5 separate regions of the Homo sapiens genome follow, and regions 2, 3, 4 and 5 are each linked to region 1. The links are contacts of gene promoters, found by promoter capture Hi-C in blood cells and fetal thymus (Javierre and others, 2016). All regions are on one chromosome and are shown on one strand. The core of a region is centred on a gene start or on the middle of the fragment in contact, and the rest is flanking DNA. Distances in the headings are between cores, read along the strand shown.

What was found. Contacts are between HindIII fragments. The CHiCAGO score rates a contact against its expected background, and 5 or more counts as called.
Region 2: a fragment that was not itself captured here is called in contact with the fragment with the promoter of GRIK1-AS1 in region 1 in 1 of 17 cell types (monocytes); the score reaches 5.4 in monocytes.
Region 3: a fragment that was not itself captured here is called in contact with the fragment with the promoter of GRIK1-AS1 in region 1 in 1 of 17 cell types (monocytes); the score reaches 5.2 in monocytes.
Region 4: a contact is called between a fragment that was not itself captured here and the fragment with the promoter of GRIK1-AS1 in region 1, in 1 of 17 cell types (monocytes). The highest score is 6.4, in monocytes.
Region 5: a fragment that was not itself captured here is called in contact with the fragment with the promoter of GRIK1-AS1 in region 1 in 1 of 17 cell types (monocytes); the score reaches 5.6 in monocytes.

Annotation. Positions count from the first base shown.
Region 1 is chr21:29,746,452-29,749,960 of GRCh38, forward strand. It overlaps GRIK1-AS1 (GRIK1 antisense RNA 1), which reads left to right and starts at 1,724. Exons shown (of 5, transcript NR_027021.1): 1 at 1,724-1,849; 2 at 2,383-2,694. All of the region lies in intron 1 of GRIK1 (glutamate ionotropic receptor kainate type subunit 1), which reads right to left. The HindIII fragment of the contact is 19,094 bases long and covers 1-1,762 here.
Region 2 is chr21:29,509,472-29,512,980 of GRCh38, forward strand. No RefSeq gene overlaps it. Among named protein-coding and RNA genes, the nearest start is that of BACH1-IT3, 15 kb to the left of the region's middle. The HindIII fragment of the contact is 2,110 bases long and covers 776-2,885 here.
Region 3 is chr21:29,534,852-29,538,360 of GRCh38, forward strand. GRIK1 (glutamate ionotropic receptor kainate type subunit 1) reads right to left here. Exons shown (of 18, transcript NM_001330994.2): 17 at 2,947-3,033; 18 at 2,082-2,534. The coding sequence ends at 2,379. Among named protein-coding and RNA genes, the nearest start is that of BACH1-IT3, 41 kb to the left of the region's middle. The HindIII fragment of the contact is 6,155 bases long and covers 1-3,509 here.
Region 4 is chr21:29,552,876-29,556,384 of GRCh38, forward strand. GRIK1 (glutamate ionotropic receptor kainate type subunit 1) reads right to left here. Exons shown (of 18, transcript NM_001330994.2): 16 at 2,177-2,427. It overlaps LOC124905006 (a long non-coding RNA gene), which reads left to right and starts at 2,422. Exons shown (of 3, transcript XR_007067839.1): 1 at 2,422-3,509. The HindIII fragment of the contact is 1,868 bases long and covers 963-2,830 here.
Region 5 is chr21:29,586,060-29,589,568 of GRCh38, forward strand. GRIK1 (glutamate ionotropic receptor kainate type subunit 1) reads right to left here. Exons shown (of 18, transcript NM_001330994.2): 11 at 2,780-2,983; 12 at 1,307-1,530. Among named protein-coding and RNA genes, the nearest start is that of GRIK1-AS2, 8.2 kb to the right of the region's middle. The HindIII fragment of the contact is 3,033 bases long and covers 306-3,338 here.

The sequences.
Region 1 (3,509 bases), core at 474-2,973:
GAATAAAATACAGAGGATAACCTTCCTTCAGTGGTCTCCCTGTTTCTTTCTCTCTCATTTTCTCTGTCTACACACATGTGCACACTAACACATGTATTGATATCATTCCGGCTAATTCAGAAAATCATAAATGTTCACTCAAGAGAGTTAAGATTTTACTCAATGATTGTAATTGTAAAGTGACTATGAGAAAAAGTTCAAGTGAAAGGACTTGGCTGATCTGAAGTAGGGTGTTATCAATTTTAATGAATCATTGAGCAACAGGTTTAGAGAGGACATTAAAAGAGATGACACACAAATATAAACCAGAGAATTGCCAATTGAAGGGAACAACCAGAAATGCAATTTAAAGTGGTGTTCTTTTGATGTTCAAAGTAACTTTTGGTGATTTTTACACACAGAGAAAAAGAAAACATTTTTTCCCTACTCAAGGTACTGCCATACAAAATAATCAAAAGGAAAAAGTATCACTTTTAGGTAGCCATTTTCTACACCTCAATCAGATTAAAGGTCTATTTTTCATCGGTTTACTTAGAGTGAATTTGCACTGCTGCATGGTGTTGTTAGTCTTTGTTGGATACCATAAGGTGTCTCCCAAGAACTTAGGAATAATGAAAATAAAATTGTTCCCTGAGAGCTAAACTATGAGCCAAACAAATAATAAATAAAAGTAGAGAATCACAGTTACCTTAAATAGACAAAAGAGCTCCCAGGACTGCAAGACTTGATTGTAACCTGCCTGAATGTATTAGAGTACTAAGAAAGAATATAGTCTCAACTGATGTCTGCACAGCCATGGGAAGATAAGGGAAAAGAAAGTCTCAGAGCAATATGGGCATGCCATTTATGCATGGTCCTGGCTAGGGAGTAAGAGCATCCTTTTGAGTAGGATATGTCTAGCTCTTACACATCAGATTAATCTCCCAAATCCTTGTTGTGTTCTCTTTACATGATCAGGAAGGAAATCTCCAATTGTGATCTGGCTTCCTGCAGGGGTTAAGGTAAACAAGGCAGACCCTGAGAAGAGGCGAAGGCAGAAAGTATCAGTTGGTTGAAGAAAGATAGTATCAGTTGTTGAAGAAAGAATAGAAAGCATGGGCCAGGCCGGGTGGCTCACACCTATAATCCCAGCACTTTGGTAGGCTGAGGCAGGTGGATCACGAGGTCAGGAGATCGAGACCATCCTGGCCAATATGGTGAAACCCCGTCTCTACTAAAAATACAAAAATTAGCTGGGCGTGGTGGCACGTGCCTGTAGTTCCAGCTACTCGGGAGGCTGAGGCAGGAGAATCGCTTGAACCTGGGAGGCAGAGCTGGCAGTGAGCAGAGATTGCACCACTGCACTTCAGCCTGGCGACAGAGCATGACTCCATCTCAAAGAAAAAAGAATAGAAAGCATGAGTAGTGATTACAGACATAAATTTCAGTAGCCCACTGAAGAAATATTCTGTGATTTAATGTCAGTCTTTTTAAAGTCACAATTTACAGCAACCTTTTTCTCCCTTAGAATTTAAACATGCTTAATCCCGTTTCATCTCAAACAATAAAATAAAAGAGACATGCCACCTCCACTTTTTCCAACACCCCTTTCCTGAGTTCCAGCTAACACTGTGAAAGCAAGGTGTATGTTTCTTAAGTATTCATTTAAGTTCTTGGGTTTATTTACATATTGTTTCTCCCTGGCATTAATCAGAGTATTGTTTGAATTTTCCAACGGTATTTCAGTTACACTCTGTTGATTCAAAAGAAGGTTGTTTGTCCAAGCTTGTCCAAGTCAGTTTCAAGAGGCTCAGCCACCAAAAGTTTCATCAAAGAGGAAGCCAAGGTCATCAGTAAAGCCTCACGAGAGGTAGGATCACAGGGGTGAAGTGGACACTCACGGGTCCTGCCATCCTTGGCATCAGGAAAGTCTCCATTCTGGACCACCTTTGTCTGTCTGAACAATTCCTCTCAGATTTTAGAGTCTGGAAATTTCCTGAGTAGCTTAAGAGAAGATAAGAGTCAAAGTTTCCAAACTGTAGAAATAACCCAAATGCATGGCTCCTTTTATTTCCACAAATTTGGCCAGAGACATGACAATTTGGGCAACTTTGTGCAATGTTTTACATTTAATGATTTTTATGACCCAAACTCTGCTAGGCAGAATAGTATAAGCATTTGTAATCCGTACTGAAATAATCCATCTGGCATAAAATCCAAATTTCAAAATTGGATGAGATTGTGTGTTCTGGGCCTACCAAGATAGTTATTACACACATGAGAACTCAAAATACTAAAGCTACTGGTAGAAACAATTGCTCTTCTCCTTGCTGTAAACATGAAAGTGAGAAGCAGCAAAGAACGATCAACAAATTAACACCCTTTTCATATTTTTTGTGACAGCTACCTGGAACGGGCAGGAAAGAAAAATGCAGATAAGAAAATTAAAACCACAGACTCCTGGGCAGCGAACAAGAGCCTTCTGATCCTAATTCGATCTGGAGTTAAGAATGAAGGGGATTTCTGTAGCAGTTTCTTTTGCATAGCAGAGCTCCGACTTTTCCAGCAACAGCGTGTCCCTGGAAGCTACACAAAGTCCTCTTTGATTGCCTGTGATCAAAGCCACGAAGGCTCTCCTGCAACATCTTAGCTTCAGAAAGCCAGGAAAATCAGAATGCTGAGAGTATATTAATAATTCCTAAACATATTTTTAAGGTGAGTGGTACTTCTAACAGAGCTTCATTATTACTAAAAATGATTTGTTTCTGACTTTCCTGTTGGGGAAAAAGTTAGCCTTAACTTTCTGATGAGCAAGTTGCATGTTACAGTGGATATTGAACAATATAGTCAGTTGTTTTACTCAGAATTTATGCAGCTGATCACATAGGGACAGGACTGGATGATAGAAAGCTCACTAGACTGGAAGTCAGGAGAATCAGCTTTGTCACCGATCTAACGTAGCATAGTGGACGTGTCTAATAGCCTTGGCCTCAGCATCTCCATCTGTGAAATGGGCTGAAGGGCTTGAGCTCTCTGTTACTTCTTTGGGATGTGGTAGTTAAGAAGGCTCCCATTGGATTCCACATACCCTTGTTTATAGCCATGGCTGAATCTTCACAAGACTGCCAAATCCCAAGCTGCCTCCTCTTCTGTACCATTTCTGCCACATTTGGGTCTTTATCAGCAGGAGAGTGCAGACACTTTAATGTGAATTCATGTGCAGCATTTGACCGAGGATTATTTCTACTTTTTAAAAGGCAGCAAGCAAAAACATGCAACTTGATATATGGGGGTGGGAAGGATCATATTTTAAAGTCAGAAGAACTGCTTATATATTTCAACTATAAAATTTATTATCTGTGTGAATTTCATTAAATTATTTAACTCCTCTGAGTCTCAATTTCTTATCTGTATAATAAAACCTAGTCCGCATATTGCAATGAAGTTAAAAAGACAGTCTGTTTATGAAAAGTGTAAATTTCTATTTAATATCAAAAGTACGTAATCTAAATTGTGAAGTCTTTATTATT
Region 2 (3,509 bases), core at 581-3,080, 240 kb before region 1:
TTATAAACGTTTAAATGTGAAATGTATAAACCATTCTTAGCAAACACTGGTAGTGGACTGTAGTCTGCTGCTCTCTGACCTGGTAATCTTCAAATTTTGTAACCTGTTCCTGGATGATGGCTTGAGGGCAAAGTGAGGTAGGCTGGCATGACATTATCCTGTTGGGAGGGCCAGGTGTATTTAATGTCTTGCCCCTGATCCTGTCTCATCTTCTATCTTCAAATCCATCAATGACTCTAAAATAAACTGCTGAGATTCAGTTTTAAAATAGCTCCTCTTCCATCTAGTTTGCTGTCAGCCTCCAGATCCTGGTTAGACTCTTTAACATCCACCTGCTCCCAGACTCCTCCCTCTTGCTCCTCCCTTTATTTTCACCCAACTCTATTATTTGTGTATATTTCTGCCTTCTCCATTTTCCCTGCCAGAATGTAAATTCCTTGAAGAGTGAGAGCGAATACTTATTAATCTTTGCTGCTGTAGTGCACTTATATCAGAATGGTGGCCAGAGCTCCATAAGTGTTTTTTACCTATAAATTCTTCTCCAAAATTACATGATGAAATTGGGTGCCATCTAAAAAACATAGAGATAGTATGTCCTCTGTTGTTTTTCCATATGTCATGCACTTTTGACCCAAATAATGATAAAAAGCAACTGTGTGAATGTCTGCATTTGAAGATACTACTCTTGGGAAATGGGTCTTCTTTCTCTCAGCACTGAATCTTCCATCATCCTGGCTCTAAGCTGTGCTAATTTGAAAATAAGGGAGAACAAAGAAGCTTGGTCTGGAGATGAATCACAGTATGAAAGAACACACAATCAAATGGCAAAGAAAAGGTGGACATGCTTAGGCTGATTCATACCCTGGTAAATTAATGGCACAGTTGCCTCCTGATTACAAAGATCTACTTCCAAAGAAGCTACTCTTGTTGATAAAAGACTCCCAGCCCACTGAAAAGGAAAAGGAAACGGAGTCTCAGAACACTTCAAATAACTTTTCTACTGTTTGGAAAATATTTTCCTGAGATGCTGAGTTCTATCATCAGCAAAGAAATAATTTATTCAGAAGTGTGGAAGGATTTAGAATTTCTCCAGTGCTCCCTTTCATTCTGTTTAAGATGTGGGCCATATCTTTGAGGAATTCCTGCCTACAGGTTGTCACGGGGTGGTTAACAGGATGTAAGAGCAGTTGCTACAGTATCGAGGGACCTAGACGTCATCAAAGTTTGGTTTGGATGGATATGACAACAGGACGTGTGCACAAAACATTGTATTGATGTTAGGCCAAAGATATCAATGAACAATTTAAAAATTCTGCTTCTGTGCTAAGGGCAGCCACCCTGCCATGTGAGCAGCAGTGCATGAGGGCCAGGAAATTAAAAGGCTTAACCGCATGCCCCAAACCATCCAAGCTACTTTATTGTTCAAGTGAAGTGAAATACAAACACAAATAGCCAGGAGGGTGAAATTTAAATTAAACTTCAAAATCATTTTGTGTTTTAACCATCGACAGTGTTCTTTGTGCTGCAAATAAGGCCACATTTATCGGAAACCTAGAAAAATAACTCCCTTGGCTCTATAGTCTCCCTTTTACATACTCTGCACCTGTTCACTTTGAAAGAAAGTTTGACCAGGTTCCCAGGAATGCAAAGTAACTACCTAGGAGGACTTTCTAAACCATGATGACCATGGCTAATGCTCTTCTCCAAGATGATGATCTGGATTTCAGCAGGATTTCAGGCCAAGATTGTCGTGCCTTTCATTGTTAGGTGGCTGCATTTGGAAATGCCTTGCAAGAGAGACATCTGCAAGGGATTCCTAATGATTCACCACGTTCTGGCTTTGTGACTTGGATACGCATTTCTGTAGACTGGTTTTTCCTTGGCACAGTTGTGCTACTGCTCTCCAGTCAGGAGCTGGATGTGAATGAGCAGGATGTTTCCCTGAACAGTTGAGCTTTTATTCTTTGAATCACAGACCACCTGCAGAAATTCCCCCTTATGGAAAGAGGTTGGAACCCACGCTGGAGCTAGGCAACAGGCTCAGTGGATTGGCAATTCCATGTTTTTTTTTTTTTTTTTTTTTTTTTTCTGAGACCAAGAATTTTTCTGCCTTCGGAGAGATTTGGGTTCATTTATAAAAGAAGATTTGATTTCTAAAAGTCTGCTATTAATGTGGCAGGCTAAATGAAAAAGTGTTGAAAGCAATAAGTTAAAAATCAATTTCTCATGAGAGGAAGCCAGGTGCAGTGGCTCACGCCTGTAATCCCAGCACTTTGGGAGGCTGAGGGGAGCAGATCACCTGAGGTCAGGAGTTCGAGACCAGCCTGGCCCACATGGTGAAACCCCATCTCTACTGAAAATACAAAAATTGGCTGGGCATGGTGGCATGTGCCTGTAGTCCCAGCTACATGAGAGGCTGAGGCAGGAGAATCCCTTGAACCCAGGAGACGGAGGTTGCAGTGAGCCAAGATCGTGGCACTGCACTTCAGCCTGGGTGACAGAGTGAGACTCTGTCTCAATTAAAAAAAAATTTTTTTTTCATGAGAGAAAATAACAAGGTTGTAAATGTCACTGCCTGTGCCATGTAGAAAGAGGTATATTTTTCAAAGACATCTATCAGGTTTGCTACATAGATATTGTTTCTTTAAGAGGATTTAAGAAGGGTGTTCATACAAACTTGTAGATATGGGGTTTGAAGTAGGAGGAAAAAAAAAACAGAAAAAAAGAAGAAAGGGAGTCTAGCGAGTAGGTTTTAAGAACAGATGCAGTTCCTCCAGGCAAATCTGGTGAAAGGGACCAGCATGACTTCTGGCCCTCGTGGGGGGCTCTGGGGTCCCGTGGTCACCTCCTTCACAGCAGGCAGCAGCCTCTAAGTTGCTCAAAAAAGCTTCTCCTTAAGGCCAAGAGAAGTCTTTATGTTTGAGCCTAGACTTTATATTTTTGCCTTGATTAAAGAATTCTCTGTGTTTATTTCTTTTTACTTGAAGGTGCTTTCTCTTTAGGTTGAGGCAAAAAGAAAAATAATTCTTATTAATAGGAAAGACACAAAGAACTTTTCCTGTTACTTTGTGGGTGAGTACTGGCCACCATCTGTGGTGGTTTAAAAAATCTATCCATAAATGCTTTGATAGTTCTGCCATCATGAAGTGGAGTCTATGAACCAATCCCCGGAACATGGGCAGCCTTTGTGATCGGCTTGATGAATAGAATGAAGCAGAGTTATGCTGCCTGACTGACTTCTAGGCCTTGGCTAGATGATGCCACATGGCTGCTATGGTTTCTCCTGTGACTCTAGTTCTGGGAGTCTTCTGCCACCATATTTGTAGTCTGGCCATTCTTAGGTAACGTGGAAAGAATTAACTCCGCAGGGGTAATTGTTCAAACTCTTCACATTTCGAAGAAGGTTTGGCCCTTGTTCAGCCCCTGGAGTGTTTTTATTTACCTGAAACTTTGGGCCATGCCAGATAGTTAATAATAATGTGAATAATGGTAGCAGACTTTGGGCTGTG
Region 3 (3,509 bases), core at 417-2,916, 210 kb before region 1:
ATCAGGGAGAAAGGAAGGTGATTATGCATTACATTTAATAGTTGACATTAAAAAAGTCCTGTTCTACAGTTTTTCAATATATTTTTAATGAAGTTATTTATAGCAAGTGTTATATGTATTGAATGAAAATTTAGTTATGTATAAGTGAAGACGAAAGAGGCTGGTGGATCTTAAAATATCCATAAACCAGATTGATATACTATATATTTTAGATATTAGAGGTTGATGTACTTCTTTTCTCACAAATTTCTGTAATAGTATGTGAAAAGATAGAGTAATATTTTCTAAAATAAGAGAAAAATTTAAAAATGGGAGAAAAATATTAGAAAATGTAAAATAGAATGCCTTGGATATAATTTTTAGTGAAGTGAATAAACTTTGTATTTCCTCCTTCTGATATGTTATCATTCTAGACCATCTTTAGCTGGTCAGATTCATCATACTCCAATTTATAAATGTTTAATTTAAGTCTTCTAATGCATTTTAATGAACGATTTTCTTCTATTTGTTGTCAATAAAAATTCTGATTGATATGAAATCTGAATATTGATTACAATCAAGCAAAACCTTTGTCCAATATCTGTTATTGTTATTGCCATTTTTAAGATCATTATTTTTCCCTTTCATGTCTGAAAATATTTTTGTACTTTGAAGGACTAGATTAAGTTTCCTAGAGATGTAGAATAATCCTGAAGAAACCAACCAGTTGTATGAAATACTGACTAATACCTATTTCTTTCCATTATTTCCCAACACAATGAATGCCACCTCAATTTTCCAGTTAAGCTCTCCTCCCACCTCCCTGAATCCTGGAATTTTCCTTTGAGACCACTTTCTGAATCCATGGCTGTTCGGATTGTGCTTCAAAATTACCTCCTTCATCTGGTGGTCTCTCTGCTTTTGGTCTGGTGCAGTTACTGAAAGAATATTTTGGGTGACCTCCCTCTAGTCTCCCTTCTGGTCTTCTTTCCTTCAATTCTTCCTCTACCCTCAGCCAGAGTGACTGCTACCTATCAGGCCTATTGGACTTACTTGCATTTTATATTTTAGCTACACCAAACTCATTTTTCCTCTAACATAATAGCCCTATTCTCTCTTATTTCCATGCCTTCTAATATGCCGCGTCCTCAGCCTGGCTCCTTTCACCTGATAATATCTGAGTGAACCTGCAAATCTTCAGTTAGCTATTCCCTTCTCCAGGAAGCCCTTCTTGACCCAGCCCCAGGTTAAATACTTCTGAGGGCTCCTTCAGTTTTGGACTTCCTCTGAGGAAGTTCTAATCCTGCTTTGAGTAATATACTGTTTTTCATCTTTGTTTTATAATTAATTATGTGAGAACAGGGACTGATATGGTTTGGCTGTGTCCCCACCTAAATCTCATCTTGAATTTTAGCTCCCATAATTCCCACGTGTTGTAGGAGGAATTTGGCGGGAGATAATTGAATCATGGCGGCGGTTTCCTCCATACTATTCTTGTGGTAGTGAATAATTCTCATGAGATCTGATGGTTTTATAAGGGGTTTCCTGTTTTGCTTGGCTCTCATTCTCTCTTGCCTGCCACCATGTAAGATGTGCCTTTCACCTTCTGCCATGATTGTGAAGCCTCCCCAGCCATATGGAACAGTGAGTCCATTAAACCTCTTTTTCTTTATAAATTACCCAGTCTTGGGTATGTCTGTCAGCAGCATGAAAATGAACTAATACAGGGACCATATCTGTTTTCTTCAGTATGGGACCCCCAGAACCTAGAATGGTGCCTAGAATGTGGCGAACACCTTTACTTTTTGAATGTATTTTTGCTTTCTGGTATCCTTTTCCAGCGCACTTCACTAATGTTCTGAGTATCATTTAAACTATTTATAAAATTAGACTTTAGAACACAAAGATAAATTGGTTCACATAGTAACTAGGTAACTTGGTATAAACTAAAAGTAATTTTTAAAACTCAGCCCAAAATGACTATGTTTGTCTAAACCAATAAGAAGAATTTTCAAAATAGCAAACTGCACAACTGACGACATACAGCAAACACACCTTTGCCAATGGGAGCAAGTAATGGGGAACAAACCAAGCTCAACTTGTTCTGGAAAAAAACCCTGTTGTTTTATTATTATTTAGAAAGCACACACAACAATTTATTGGGGAAAAAGAAAAAATGCAAAATAATTGAGCATACAAATTTATTTTAAAAGAACTGGTGTCACTTCCCAAGTCATATCTATGTGAGCTTTTTAAACTTTTGTATTTCTTATATCTGTATTCATAATCAGAGTTATGGATATAGATATATGGAAACACATCACACACTCCTCAGAAATCCTTTCTCCAAAAATCTGTAGGGAATGCATCCTTTTTCTTCCTACAGGCGTTTCCTTGGATCACGCCACAGTCTCTTTTCTCTGAGTTCGTCTCTGATGACAAGTAAGGATACTTGTGAAGGAAGATTTCCCCTTAGTTCTTGACTTTTTCTTTATTTTTTTCTGATTCTTCAGTGAGATTCCCAGTTCTTCCATGATAGCGTTGAAAGAGAGACACTAGGGAACATGAGATACAGACCATCAGCTTAATTAAGCCTATCGCATGTGCCGTTGACCTGCCTCTTGCCTAGGTATTTATGAACACAAGATATTGGCTTGAAGGCAGCTCTGTCACAATTGGCCAGTTCCCATCACCTCCTCCTCCACCCGCTGGCCACCCACCTTTTCTAATCGGGGAAACTGAGATGGCAAGTTAGCTGGGCAAACTTTGGGATTTCATTCACAAATGCAGTAGTATAAAACTACCCAGTTAAAGCAAACTCAGGGCTCTCAAAATAGATAACTTACCTTTGCTGAGACACCAAAATAGAGTTAAATTAAGTCATTTCCCCCACTGAGATGATCCAAACATTGATAGGATTATCAAGGCATACGGACACTTCAGTAATGCTATAGAAAATGAACAAACCTTCTCTACACCAAGGCTTTGTTTTTTTCTCCCATGAAACCTTACTTTGTTCCTAAAATAAAATCTAATTCTTGATGACTTTCCTTTCTGATAAAAAAAAAAGAAAAAAAAACAATTTTAAATTGTACATTTTCTCCAAAAAACAGAGATTCTGGCAGCAGCAATGATGCAGCTGTGGTCGAAATGAAAAATAATGTGGTACTGAACTTCACAGCAAAAACGATGGCATAATACAAAAGAAAATGGAAAACGGAATTATGATTAAAAAATGTTCTACATATACAGACAATATATATAATCTGCATTGCAATTATGCTATATCTGTTCACATGCATAGTACATAAATGGACCAATAAAACATAATTTGCTGTCATTTTTCTAGCCAAGATAAGACCTTTGAGTGAAAAATTCCTGCTCAGAGAAATTTCTATAATGTCCTGGTTAGAGAAATTTCTAAAAAGTAGTTTTCTTTTTGATGAGGTCACTCTTAAAACATCCTCTAGTGATATGAGCCAGCACAGGAGGACAAAGGCAGCATGATTCCACTTATATGAAACATCTAA
Region 4 (3,509 bases), core at 647-3,146, 190 kb before region 1:
GTTCTGTTTCCATGAGTGATGTTCAACATAGCTAGTGCTCTTCTGTGACACCAGAGGTTTCAAGTTTAGTTTTCTTTCTGTGGATCACGGTTTTTAAATCTTTAAATGCTAAGACACTTTTGAGTCTTTGTGTAAATAATACATTTTAAATCGTGGAATCAGTTTCAATTAAAAATTAACATTGTTATGGAGTTATGTGTGTACTGTTGAAAAGGTAAGGGTTTTGGGTAGTTTGAAAATACGCAGATCTACACAATATATGAGACAGGGAGAAGAAAAGAGGAGGGAACAAAGTTCACAAAGATGAAAAGAAGTCCATAGAATTAGCATCGTGTTTCCATGCTTTGCCCTGTTGAAAGTCTGAATCTCCTTTTTCATGAAGGAAGAGTTACTTATTTTTAATGCATGAAGATAGAACTAAGATGATGAGTGGGACAGAGAAGATTCCTGTAAATACACATTTCTAGAAGTCTTTATACCCCTAATATGCCCCTGCTTCAACATACAGTGCAAGTATCTTTCCAGTGTATTCATTTCAATGTCTAGAATACATGAGTTTTGCTATCCTAAAGGAATAGAGAATTGTGGCTATTTATGCTTAGCAAATACAAATATCAACAACACCAATTAGCAAAAACATTTTCTACTGGGCACATCTTTTTTTTTTTTTTTAAACTGATTACACAGTATGAACTGAGGACTGTTTTCGAATCCCTCTCTCCTCTCGAATTAATTTACCACATTCTAAATCCGTAGATAAAGTAGTTCCAGAAGTGGAGTTGGTTGGATGGGTTTGCTTACATTGCAGTCCATAAAAGAAACAAAAAGCCTTGCATGCAAAAGAAATGAGAAAAAAATATAGAAAAATGAATAAATCAGAAGCAAGAATGAATGTTTAAATGAAAATTTACATCACATGAAGCTGGCAACTATGAAAAGCACATTAAAGCATCATATATACAAGCTTTTATTTTCCAAATTAGTTGCATAAAACAAGACACCTCAAGAGCAAATTGAAAGTTAAAGCAGATCAGTTCATTCTCCCTTTGAATTAAAGAAACAGCTTCTTATAACAAGAGCTTTGGAAAGGGGTGTTCATTGTTGTCATAGTTGCCTTGTAATTCTGGGGAAGATTTTCATGTGAAACCAGGTTATAATGAATCATCCCCAGTTTTGGGCCCTTAAGGAGGGCTTCCACTTAAAGAAAGTGGATCTATTATCAGATTATTAATCAGAACCAGCCACATAATTTGCAGGGTCCAGTGCGAAATGAAAATATGGGACACTTTGTTCAAAAATTATTTAGAATTTCAAGATGACAGGAGAGCATTAAACTGGCTCTGTCATTAATAGTCATAGTCTTAAAATTCTAACAATATTTAAAAATTCAAAGCAGAGCCTGATTCACTATGATGACCATAAACTTTATATTTTGTTTATTCTAGCATGGTTATGAAGGAATTATCTTAAATCACAATCAGCCTTTTCAAAAGAGTGTAAGTTGATTTCCTTCAAAAATGGTGTGATTTCCTTCAGAAATAAAAGTAGTAGGCAAAAATGGTCAACTACTAAAGTTGTCCTATAATCCCAAACACAATTTAGAAAAATAAAGTCTCATATACATTGCATTTTCATTTTGTATTGTTTATGACATTCCTGGCAAAAAAAAATTTGAGGTGATATATCCTTTTACAAATCTTACTTTGATAGAAGTGTTCAATTTCGTAGTATGACTTTTACATATTTATATAAATTGTTTTGCATTAGTACATGTGCTCAGAATCTATACTTAAGGGCTGGTAACATTTCTGTTAAATATCTTTTTATATCTTTTCCAATTTTGGATTTATTTTTGCCTTTTTCCATCTAGGGTTTCTATCTTACGAGCAAACAACAGTTCAAAAATTAACTGAGTTTGGAATTTCTGCACTGTCTTTCCAAATAATGCTAATTGGATTTAGTGTATAAGCCCCTTCCTTGTCGTTAATAAATGATGGACCTGCAGTGCCCACAGCACCTGGCAGGGATTCAATAGCTCTCTGCTCTAACTCAAAAATGGCTCTTCTGGGCATCTAATTCAATAGACTGAAAAAGAGCAAACATCCTTAAAAACCCCCAAACTTAAGACAGATAATGCAAACTATAAACTAACCAGTCCTAGAAAGAGATGACTCACCTGTTCAATATCATTATTCTTCCGTGATTTGTATATGAATTCTCCAATAGCTACAAATACAGAAAGGACCAGTCCGGCAGCCAGAACAATGAAGATGCCTCCAATATTTTCCACTCCCAGGGCACTGGCTTCTTTGTTGTCTTCCTCGGGGCAGCCATTCCCACGCCACCACTTCTCTTTCATCATATGCAGCTTCCCTTCTTCTTGGAGTTGAAGAATAGCAATAGTAATTTTATCCCGGTAAGGAGAACCTGGAAGTAAAACCATCTGGATATTGGTCACCAAAATGTTGAAGAAGACATCCAGAAGTATTCTTAATTATCATCTTTGTCATAACTATGTTACGGCTGTTGTGAGACCCCAATCCACAAATTGACTTGCAAAGGACAGGAAAGTTCACTCCTATATTTTGAAGGCACTATATAATTGGAAAGAAGATAGCTGACATGTTGAGATTAACTTTGGCCCCGATTGTTTGCTCCTTTTAAATAAGGAGAAGCAAAGCTAGGAATTCTATGACATGTCTTTGTTTCTGGTGAGATCATTATGAGTCTTTTCACATGTCAAGAGATTTCACTGTGTAAGCTAAAAATAAAATTCTAAGCCCCCATTGACTGAACGACCCTCTTTTGTAACCAAAGGGACCCCAGAAAAAGCTTAAGAACTTAGTTTGCAGCCATACCGGAATGGGAGGTCAGACAGAGCAGTCTATTTGTGGCAATAAGATATCAAATTATAAACAGAACTGAAGGCCATGCCAGACAAGGGTTAAGTCACACAGCCTTGGACTTAAAAAATAAACTATGCTCCAACTGCTACAAGGCTTTTCTTTTTCTCAAGGAGGTAAACAAGCACTGGCCTCAAGATAAGCAATATTAAAACAACTACAGCTCATCCAACTCTTAGACACTGACTTCCAGCCCCTGTTCCACCAGATATACCTTTCATTAAACAAGATCCTGATTTCAGTAACTTTCTCCAGAGAAGAAGACCACCGACCTTAGACTGGTTCTGGTTGGATTAAAGAGAGTGTACCCTTGCATGCCATTGTGTCCTGCAAGACATTTTGACGTATAGAACCTAATTATAAAACCATTAAATGTTAAGTCTCTACCCCGAAGTGGACAAGGATTGTATGTTACATGCATTTTTGTTCAATATGCATGTGTCAGGATCATCTTCATAAATATTCATAGCTCCGCCTGTAACCAGTTTAATATGTATGTTTAGCCAACCCATTCGGCATAAAGCTCTTGCCCCAACCCCTCTTTTTTCAAAGTGCCTGTCTTTGATCTTGGTTGGACACATGTTTTCCAGCCTACGGGATGACCAC
Region 5 (3,509 bases), core at 572-3,071, 160 kb before region 1:
GACAAAATCCCTCCTGGTTGAGAACCACTGATTTAGAGTATTAAAATACAAAGGATAATATCACTATATACATACTGTCAATATTTTATTTTCTGAAGTAAGGCATATTTAAAGAGAGCTTTGGTCAGTAAAAGTATAAAATCTGAGCTTTGGTAAGGGTACAGTTTATAAGGCCTAGAGAACATCAAAACATTCATTTCATATTGAATGTATAAATACCCACATGTGAGAGCACATGTTGATTCAGTTTGAGTATGTCTGCCTTGTGGATCTTTAAAACCTTTCCAGCCTGTGTTATTTTCCCAAGCTTTCTTTATAATTACACCAGGGAAAGAGTTACCTGGCATTAATCAAAACCAGACAGTGGACAATGACAAAGAGCTAGCATGAAGAAATATTTCTCTTAGAAATTCCTGGAGGGAAAACAAAAATTGATTAGGGAAAAAGTTCACTGAGTTTTGTTGAAAGGTGAAAAAGATTGAAAACAAGTAGGGACATACAAAAGCAATTATTTTTTACATGGTTTATCTAGGGACAGCAAATGTTTAAGCCAACAGAAAGATAAAATAACTGTTTCAAATTTAGCATCAAAAGTATTCAGAATATATGATCTATTGAAAGGTATAAAAATCCTTTAAGGAACTGTGTAGAGCAAAATGGTTAAATACAGAGTTAAATCTCGAAAAGTAAAACCTCAATTGAATCATCTTAATGATAGCACAAAGGTTTCATGCCTCCAGGCTCTGTATGTAAGCAATCTTTCCTTTCAGCATTATTTCTAGAATTCTCTTTAACTTTCTCATGCCTTTAAAAATAAATTTAATAGAACTTTTAAAGTATTTTTCTTCATTCCTAAGGGTTTCACAATCTTTTTACTCCACTGTTTTTTATTTGCTATGATAATTCTTTGCTGACTTTTTTATGTTTTGCTTATCCAAATATTCTAGGGGTCAAATATCTTGAGACCATTTTACAATTCCTATGGAAACATTTTACACATCATTTGAGCCATTACTTTTGTTATAAATCAAGGAAAATGGCTAAATAACCATTTTATGTTGCTTGAAATAGGGATAAAGTTAAACTAATATTAAAAATTATCTTCCTCTCTTTTAAAAGTAACTTTATAAATAATTAGAAAACATTCATTTACAGAACGGCTTTTATATGGAAACCTTCCAAGAATAGAACACTAGGCAAAACTAAAAGTACACTTTAAAGTTCCTAATTTTTGTCTGCCTCTGGGACATACAGAAATCTGAGACTGACCTACACCTCTTGTGAATTCAGTGATTCTCAAACTTACCTTGCAATCACAAAGAGTACACAGCTGACTCCCAAGCAGGCTAAGAGCACATACATCCAAATATCTGGAGACAGGGGGTTGAGGAAGGAGAAAACGCCTGGATTGGTACCATTGGGCTTCCGGTAGAGAATGCTGATGCCTAGGGTCATGAAGGGTTTGGAGAAGTCAATGACTTTCTCCCGCACGTAGGTGATGGTAAGAGGAGCCACTGCCAGGTCAGCCCTCTGCAAAAGCAAGTCCAAAATTGTCAGCTTAGTCTAGTTTCTTTGCAAATGTCTAGACTTTTCCTGGGTACTCCTGATTCTTATTCTCAACTCTAAATGCTTCTCATTCATGAAGCTCCTGTGATGGTTGGTTCTAATAAAAAAAAGCCAATTTATACAGTTATGTTTATGAAACAGTATCAGCAAAGAGAAACCAGAAAGTATAAAACACACATATACATACACAAATATATATCCATCATTCTGGAACTAAAGACAAAAATGCAGGAAGATGCCTTTAAAAAGGGCATGTGAGAAAAAGAAGGAATGAGCAACTTGGTTGTACTATTAATTGACATGATGAGATTTTGCTCTGAGCTGAAAACTTTAAAATTCTTTTTTTTTTTTTTTTTTTTTTTTTTGTGAGGCGGAGTCTCACTCTGTCGCCCAGGCTAGAGTGCAGTGGTGCAATCTCGGCTCACTGCAAGATCCACCTCCCAGGTTCATGCCATTCTCCTGCCTCAGCCTACCGAGTAGCTGGGACTACAGGCGCCCACCACCACGCCTGGCTAATTTTTTGTATTTTTAGTAGAGGCGGGGTTTCACTGTGTTAACCAGGATGGTCTCGATCTCCTGACCTTGTGATCCGCCTGCCTCAGACTCCCAAAGTGTAAAATTCTTAATTTAAGAATCACTCAAGTTTATGTTCAGTATGAAAGAAGGATCCATATAATATGGTTTGGTTCTGTGTCCCCACCTAAATCTCACCTTGAATTGTAATAATCCCCATGTGTCAAGGGTGGGACCAGGTGGAAGTAACTGGATCATGGGGTATTGGGATCTGGTGATTATGAGTGAGTCTCATGAGAGCTGATGATTTTATAAGTGTCTAGCATCTCCCCTGCTTTCACGCATTCTCTCACCTGCCACCCTGTGATGAAGTGTCTTCTGCCATGATTGTAAGTTTCCTGAGGCCTCTCCAGCCATGAGGAACTGTGTCAATTAAATCTCTCCTTTATAAATTTCCCAGTCTCAGGAAGTTCTTTATAGCAGTGTAAAAACAAACTAATGCACCATATATTTTTATCATTAATTTTTATCTTTACTTGCCCTTCTAAGTAAGCAAACTCCATTTCCAGGCTGTTTTACTTTGCTTCTTAAAAAAATTGTTACGATTCAAAAAAAGGAAACATTTCTTCTGACATCATTTTTTCCTCTCTTACTTTCTCTTATGCATATTTTCAGATATGTTAGAAATATTGTTACTTACGTGATCTATGAGTTCTTTAACCATCCCGTTCCACTCCCCTTTGTCATTCTGGGCCCCATATTTGCCATCGGGAACTAGTTTAACATCATAAATGAAACCCAGGATGTTTGACAATTCTTTCAACAGGTCTAGGCAATATCCTTCAAATCTGTCATTTCCATATAGAGGCTTATCAGATTTCCTGTACATAACATAGGGTTCTTCCTAAATGAAACAAACCAAATATGAAAACCCTGTTATAATGAAAGGAAGAGTTTACCCTATCAGCAGCTTGAAGATGTGAAATGTTTGATAATGATTTTGAAGAGCTGAGAGTACTGAAGTCATTCACTCATCTGCCTGCCTATGTCCTCTATAAATACAAAACACTTCCTATATTATTGTTTCTTTCCCTTCTGCGTCTTTCGATGGGAGCTTTTCCTTCCGCTGTGGAGGGTGGGGCTGTGCGGGAATGGTGTGATGGATACACAGTCACTGTTAAATGTTGGGTCTGAGAAGAAGGAAGGCGCAAAGGGAAATGGGGGCCCACATGCCTGGCCACCTGCTGTGCCAATACCTAAGCTTTTTTTTGTATGACCCTTCTGGCTTTTTTTTTTTTTTTCTGACGGAATCTCACTCTGTCACCCAGCCTGGAGTGCAGTGGGGAGATCTCAGCTCACTGCAAGCTCCACCTCCCGGGTTCAAGCCTTTCTCCTTTCTCAGCTTCTTGAGCAGCTGGGACTACAGGCGC